Regions from separate parts of the Homo sapiens genome. Here region 1 is linked to region 2. Evidence: promoter capture Hi-C in human tissues and cell types (Jung and others, 2019). All regions are on one chromosome and are shown on one strand. Each heading gives the region's core, a stretch centred on a gene start or on the middle of the fragment in contact. The rest is flanking DNA. Distances are from core to core; before and after follow the strand shown. Region 1 has its middle 17 kb from the start of TCL6. Region 2 holds the start of TCL1B (TCL1 family AKT coactivator B).

Region 1 (3,481 bases), core at 126-2,625, 51 kb after region 2:
CCATTTTGTAGATGAAGAAACTGAGGGTCAGAGGCAGGTGGAGCATCTCCTAGATTCATATGGAGTCAGGATTTAAACAATTGCAGAGCTCTTCCCTGCTACACAAGTTCACAAGTTCCTGAGAAAAAGCCCAAATGATGAGGTCAGGAATAACATCACCCCACCACACACGCTTCACACACACCACACATACACACATACACCAAGAACCCGGTTTAGTGATAAATTAAGATGTAGGGAGCCACACTCCTGTGTCCTGGGCCATTTCCTCCCAGGACCTCTGCGCCTGACATCCAGCATGCCTATTCTTCCCACTCTGCTTAGTGAAGCTGCCCTGTCCCACCCAGCCCCACTCTCACATGCTCCCAGGCTGGAACCTTCCAATACTGTCAGGGTCTCCAGCCTCCCCCCAGCACCTCCCCTGAACATTGGTAGCTGCAGGACAAACCTTACCTACTGGTCAAAACACCCAGAAGTCAAGGCACATCCCTGGCCTTGGATGAAGACAGAGATGAAATACACACCCAGGGATTTAGGGAGAAGCCTCTGCCTTGGACAGGAGTGGCTAATTCCAGAAAAGAACAGAGACTCCACAAAAGGGCATGAAGGGCCCTCCCTGCACTTAGACTGACTCTTGTCTAGCAACTGAGGGGTCTTTAGATGTTGTCTGTTTCAAAACAACTTTTGTGCCCATTGGCCAATATGATGAAAGAAACAGACTCTTATCAATGACATGCTTTCTCTGTCTTTCTATACCTGCATTCATTCATTAACATAGTTTTTGTTGAGCCCTGTCTATGAATTAACTCCTGTTCTAGGTACTGGAGATACAGCAGTGAAGGAAACAGACAAGAACTCCTGGCCTTGTGGAGCTGACATTCTGGTAGATGGATAAGCCCCACATACAGAGGTAGACACACCATGTGTCAGATGGCAACAGGGGCTGTGGAGACAAGCAAAAAAATGGGAGGGGAGTGGCTGCAATTTTAGATCAGAGGTCAGGGAAACCTCACTAGGATGGTTTCATTTGAGCAAAGGCCTAAAGGAGCAGAAGGAGGTAGCCAGGCAGATATCTGGGGAGGCAGCATTCCAGGCAAAGAGAAATGCATGTACAAAAGCCCTGAGGCAGGAGCTACTTTACTTGGTCAAGGAACAGCAGGAGGCCAGCAAGAGCCAGAGGAAGGCAATAGGAAAGGAGGAGAGGTGGGGATGAGGCCAAGTGGTACAAGGCCTTGTGTACCACAGAAAGCTCTTTGGCTTTTCCTTTGAGCATGGCTGGAAGTGATTGGAAGCTTCTGAGCAGTGCTGGAATGTGATCTGACTTGAATTTTAAAAGATGACTGTCTACTATGTGAAGAATAGATGGCTGGGGACAAGGTGGATGCAGAGTCAATGAGGGAGCTCTTGCAATAATTCAGCCAGGATGGCAGAGGCTTGGCCCGGTAGGAGCCTGGAAAGACGGAGAAGGGGTTAGGCTCACACAATGGTGTATTGATGGCTTATATATATCTTCTCCCAGAAGCAGCCCAGCAGGGAGTTAAGAGTGGGACCTCTGGAGTCCAGCAAGCTTGTGTTTTAATCCTGGTCACTCTTTCTCAGCTGGTTATCTTTGAGATAATTGACTTAATTCTCCTAAAGTTCCATTGTTCCTTCATTGGAGAAACTACCTCTGCTACCTCTTAGCTATGCTAAGCTTCCAATGTAGCAATGCCTGTGTATTAGTCCATTCATACATTGCTATAAAGACATACCTAAGACTGGGTAATTTGTAAAGAAAAAAGGTTTAATTGACTTATAGTTCTGCAGGCTGTACAGGAATCATGGCTTGGGCAGCCTTAGGAAACTTACAATCATGGCAGAAGGTGAAGGGGAGCAGGCACATCTTCACATGGCTGGCAGGAGAGTGAGCAAGTGAAGGGGAAAGTGCTACACACTTTCAAACAACCAGATCTCATAAGAACTCTATCATGAGAACAGCAAGAGGCAAGTCCACCCCCATGATTCAATCACCTCCCAGCAGGCCCCTCCTCCAACCATATCAGCCTGTAACACCCCCTCCCTGACCACCACCCAGCACAGCCTCTGACACACAGAAAGCACTCAATAATGATCAGACTTGTGGGGGCTCTTTGATTTCATGACTGTGTTACCAAGACCCACTAGGACAGAGGCCACAACAGCCTCTCTCTGCTGTACTCCAAAATGCCCACTCTTATATCTGCTCCAAATTAAACTCCAGGTTCCATCTGGGAATTCAGGACACTCTGACCCTGCCAGTCTGACCCAGTGGCCATGCTGGTCTTCCCCTTGTGACCTCAGAGATGGCTTATCCCATGTTTATATGTAGGAGCTTTGGAATCAAAATTATGATAATAGTGACTTTTGGTAAGCAACTATTTTTTGTATGAACTCCATTGAACTAATGTAAGACATTAAAATAGTTTTCCACACATTATGAGCTGTGTCTTGCTTTCCCCATGTCCACTAGTCATTTTAGAAATTGTTTTCATAGGATTCGATTTAGGCACAGAGCTGCTGCATCTTACAACTTCAGGAAGTGCTGGCTGGGGGCACCCCTGGCATGCATGGGGCAGCTAGCTATGGGTCTGGGCATGGCTTATCTTGTCCATGTGGTCATACAACAAAGCTTGGATTCACTGAGCAATTGTTGGACCTATCCTGGCTTCTGCCAGGTGGTTGTGCTTAGCATCATTATTTCTTTCAAGTTCACCAGTGGCTTGCTGAACAATGAGGTCAAAGTAGCAGGGTCATGACACCCTCTGGGCCAAAACAGCAGGGTTTTGCCCCAGTCCCTGGTGTTGCTTCTGGCACCTCAGACTCCCCTGGGCTGTGTGGCTCTCATTCCCTTGGCATTCTTGTGACCCCTCCCAGTGGAGAATGCTTAACCCCCATCTCAGACCTGTGCCCACCTGGGGTTCACCACAGCTTGACCTCTTGGGCACTACTGCCAACGTCAAGGTGAGTTATTCATCAGTGTCATCCCAAGGATTAAAAGGAAAGAAGACTCATCCCAGCAATGATCCTCCCTGGTCCTGGCCATTCCCTCTAGCAGTGCCTTCCAGCACATGCAATGCAGAGATCCTACTCTAATCCCCATCCCCCAACACACACACACACACACACACACACACACACACACACACACACACACACTGTGAGGAGATTTCTGGAGACAAGCTTTGCCCTGGGGACTCTGCCAAGGTCCCCTGGCTCAGCCCTGCAGTAACTGAGCCAGCACCAGCAGCCTCATCACCCTCACCTGGACTGCAGCCTCCCTGCCTCCCATGGCTTCCTCTGCATTGAATTGTGCCCCAGAAAGCTTTCAAAGCCTATCCAGACCCTATCCTGCCACACCCTGACCCAGTGGATGAAGCCACCTCCTTGTTTCATCTGCAAGCTCTTTCATCACATGGTCATCACTCGCCTCCCAGGCTCCTTGCTCACCAATGTCCAGTCCCCC
Region 2 (3,570 bases), core at 435-2,934:
GCATGAGAATCACTTGAGCCTGGGAGGTGGAGGTTGCAGTGAGCCAACATCACACCAGTGCACTCCAGCCGCAACAGAGCAAGACTTTCTCAAAAAACAAACAAACAGGCAGTGAATTGTTTACGAAGACCTAAACGGCATTTTTTTTTTTTTTTTTTGGGACGGAGTCTCACTCTGTCACCCAGGCTGGAGTGCAGTGGTGCGATCTCGGCTCACTACAAGCTTCGCCTCCCGGGTTCACGCCATTCTCCTGCCTCAGCCTCCCGAGTAGCTGGGACTACAGGCGTCCACCACCACGCCCGGCTAATTTTTTGTATTTTTAGTAGAGACGGGGTTTCCCCATGTTGGCTAGGATGGTCTCGATCTCCTGATCTCGTGATAAGCCCATCTCGGCCTCCCAAAGTGCTGGGATTACAGGCGTGAGCCACCGCGCCCAGCCCTAAATGGCATTTTAAATATCCGGATATGCTTTTACCACATTACACTAAGGTACAGCCAGCCCCCCATTTCCATGGATACTGCACCCATGAATTCGACTAACCTCAGATTAAAAATATTTTGGGAAAAAAAGAAATTCCACAAAGTTCCCAAAAGCAGAGCTTGAAGTGATGTGTAGGTGTAGCATTAGGTGTTATTAGTAATCTGATTTCAAATATAGTAGAGGATGCGCTGAGGTTATATGTAATTACTACCCAGGTCATTTTCTATCAGGGACTTGAGCATCCACAGTCGGTCCTGGAATCAATTCCCCACCGCCACCCACACCAGAAACGCTACTGTATTTACTTCATCCCTCAAAGACTGGCTGTGATCTAAAGCCCTCATCTACAGCCGTTTCCTGAGTCATTATCATTATCACCTGGGGAGCTTTTGAAAAGTAAAGAATCTAGGACTCCACCCAAGCCTCCTGAATTAATTTCCAGAATCTGTTATCAGTCAAATGCTTCCCCAGGCCATTCAGGCGGTGAGCCATGTATGTGAGCATGTCTGTGACTAGCTTGCCACAGAGGTATATTATTCTCATTTTGCAGATCAGTAATCTGACACCAATGTCATGTTCATCCTGTTGGCCCACCTGGTGCCTCCAGGCTGCAATGCTTTTGCTTATACTACTCCTGCCTCCTTTCTAGACCTGGAGAACTCCTACTCATCCCACAAAGCCCAGCTCAATAGCTGCCCCATTTGTGGGCCTTCCCAGCAGGCACTGGGAATGGCACTAAGCCCTGAGCTACCTTAGCCTCGGCTTCACCACGCAGGACCACATTATCTCATGTGGATAAGCTTGTGCCTGTGGTCCCTTTACGGGGGGTGTTCCTGGGGCCAGGGCTGGGCATGGACATTGCTGCGCTCCTAGACCTGCACAGAAGTGAGTTTTCCAGTGCGGGTGAGAACGGCCCCCTCTGACCCCCACCGCGGTCCCACACGGGCAGGGGTCAGTGCGCAGCCCTCCCCACAGCCTCCCCTCGTGCCCAGGACTCACTCTGCTGCCCTGGGAGGCCCTGGCCCATTCCCTACGCGAGGGATTGAACCGCACGACCACAGTCACCCAGGTTCTCCCCTCCTCATCTTCGTAGATGCCAGGCCTCTGGATCCACAGACGGCCAGGGGGCACCCCTAGACGCACAGAAGCTTCGGAGGCCATGGCAAGTCTGCAACCGGGACCCGCCTCTAGGCTCACACGTGTAGCTTTCCAGCTGCGCAATCTCCTTAAATGGAGCAGCTCCGGCGTGGGTGGGGCCCGGGCCGGCAGTGGGGGCGGGGCCGGCAGTGGGGGCGGGGCCAGTCGGGGGAGGAGGGGGAGGAGGAGGAAGGGGGAGGAGGGAGGAGGGAGGAGGGAGGAGGAGGAGGGGGGAAAAAAGCAACCTGCAGCAGGGGCTAGGCAGGGACGAGGCCAAAGAGCAGCGGAGTTAGGAACCCGGCCTGGGTCTCCTGGAGGGGCTGTGGCTGGACCGGCAGCTGCTGGAGGCAAAAGGGCGGCTCCCGGGGATAGAGCTGCCCAGGCTTCACCCCAGGCCTCTGCAAGGAATTTGGCTCCTAAGACCTATTCCACCTCCCTTCCACTGGTCCCAGTCCCTCCGCAGCCTCCTCCCTGAGCACCCCTGCCCAATTTTCTGTCAGGTGATTCCCCTCCTTTGCTCCCCACGACCCCCTGCCAACCATCCTGCCCCAGATCCTGAGCTGGCATGCACGACCCTGGTCTCTCCTATCCCTGTGGCCATTCCTTTAACAGGACTCTGTGTCAGGGACCCTTCTCTGAGCTTAGAGCTTAGAGGCATGGGGGGCGGGGGGCGCTGTAACCTCAGTGGACTCTTGCCCCTGGAGGTATCTGGTGAAGGCGCATCCTGCACAAATCAAGCTCCCTCTCCTTAGAAAATAAGCCAGTGCACTATCAGCATCTGAGCTCAGGATCAGATAAAGCCCACAGAAACAAGGCCACCGGAGGCCACGTGGCCACCTGGCCAGCCCATCCTTGGCCATGGGGCCCAGAGTGCCCACTTGGCCTGGTCGTCTTACTTGCTCGACTTTGTCAAGAGGCCTCAGAAGCTCAAGAACATAGCAAGAAGCAGGTCCGTTCTATAAGCACCCTGGGCTGCTTCTAAATGCACCATGAATAGGAACCTTTTCCTTTTGAAAACCACAAGCATGATTCTTCTAGTTCAAGTGAAGATTAGTATTGAGATGATGCCATTCTGCTGGGGAGATGTGAAAATGATTTCTGGACAGTCCTGATCCAGTGTAAATGGCAGGTAGGATAACCACTTTTGAAGAACTCCCTGGGCAGCTTCTGTGGAGGACTGAGTCTTGTTTTCACAGCAATTCCACCTCCATCCCCAGTGTTTTTCCAAGGAACCAACACTTGGGGTGGGAATGGAGTGGGCCAGGAAGACAAGGGACATCACAGTCTCATATAATGTGATCCATACATGGAATCACGTACGTGTGTCACCTTTGCCATATTCCATTGGTCAGGGGTAGGTCCTATCCTTACTCAAGGTTATGAATACCAGGAGGCAGGGATCATGGGGACCCCTGGTCTCCTGGGCCCCCCTGAAGCCTGTTTGCTGTAGGTACCTACCCTATGGGACTCCTCTGAGGATCAGATGAGGCTGTGTGTATAGTGTTAAAGCCTGACACATAGTGAATACTTGAAATACCCTGGTCAATAGTTATGTTCTCAGACTAGTTCCCTCTCCCAGGCAGAATCCATCATTCCTACCCTTGTAACCCCAATGCAATTGCTATTTATCTCTATCATTTTCTGTTGCAAATATATATTTTGATATTCTCAACCTCACTCCCTGATGGGCAGGTGTGTGGCTGTCAGTGGGGTTGGAGGTAAAGGTTGCCTAATATGTGGGGAGCCCCTATGCCATGTCAGGCATTTTTCATAGGGTATCTCACTAACACCTCCCAACAACTCCATAAACTAGAGACCGTCACCCCCATTTCATAGATGAAGTATCAGAGGCTTGAGTGGCTTAGCAACCTGAATGAAGTGGGTAGCAGAGGAAGGATATGGACCCAGCTGTTCCTGGCTCTAACATGCATGCTGCTTGTTGACTGCCTTGG

The links. The method cuts DNA at HindIII sites, captures the fragments that hold promoters and counts their contacts. A contact is called where the count stands out against the background at its distance.
Region 1: a fragment that was not itself captured here is called in contact with the fragment with the promoter of TCL1B in region 2 in 1 of the 25 tissues and cell types used here (lymphoblastoid cells).

What each region holds. Positions count from the first base shown.
Region 1 is chr14:95,632,903-95,636,383 of GRCh38, reverse strand. No RefSeq gene overlaps it. Among named protein-coding and RNA genes, the nearest start is that of TCL6, 17 kb to the left of the region's middle. The HindIII fragment of the contact is 3,788 bases long and covers 1-3,269 here.
Region 2 is chr14:95,684,540-95,688,109 of GRCh38, reverse strand. It overlaps TCL1B (TCL1 family AKT coactivator B), which reads right to left and starts at 1,684. Exons shown (of 4, transcript NM_004918.4): 1 at 1,481-1,684. The coding sequence starts at 1,642. The HindIII fragment of the contact is 12,005 bases long and covers 1,456-3,570 here.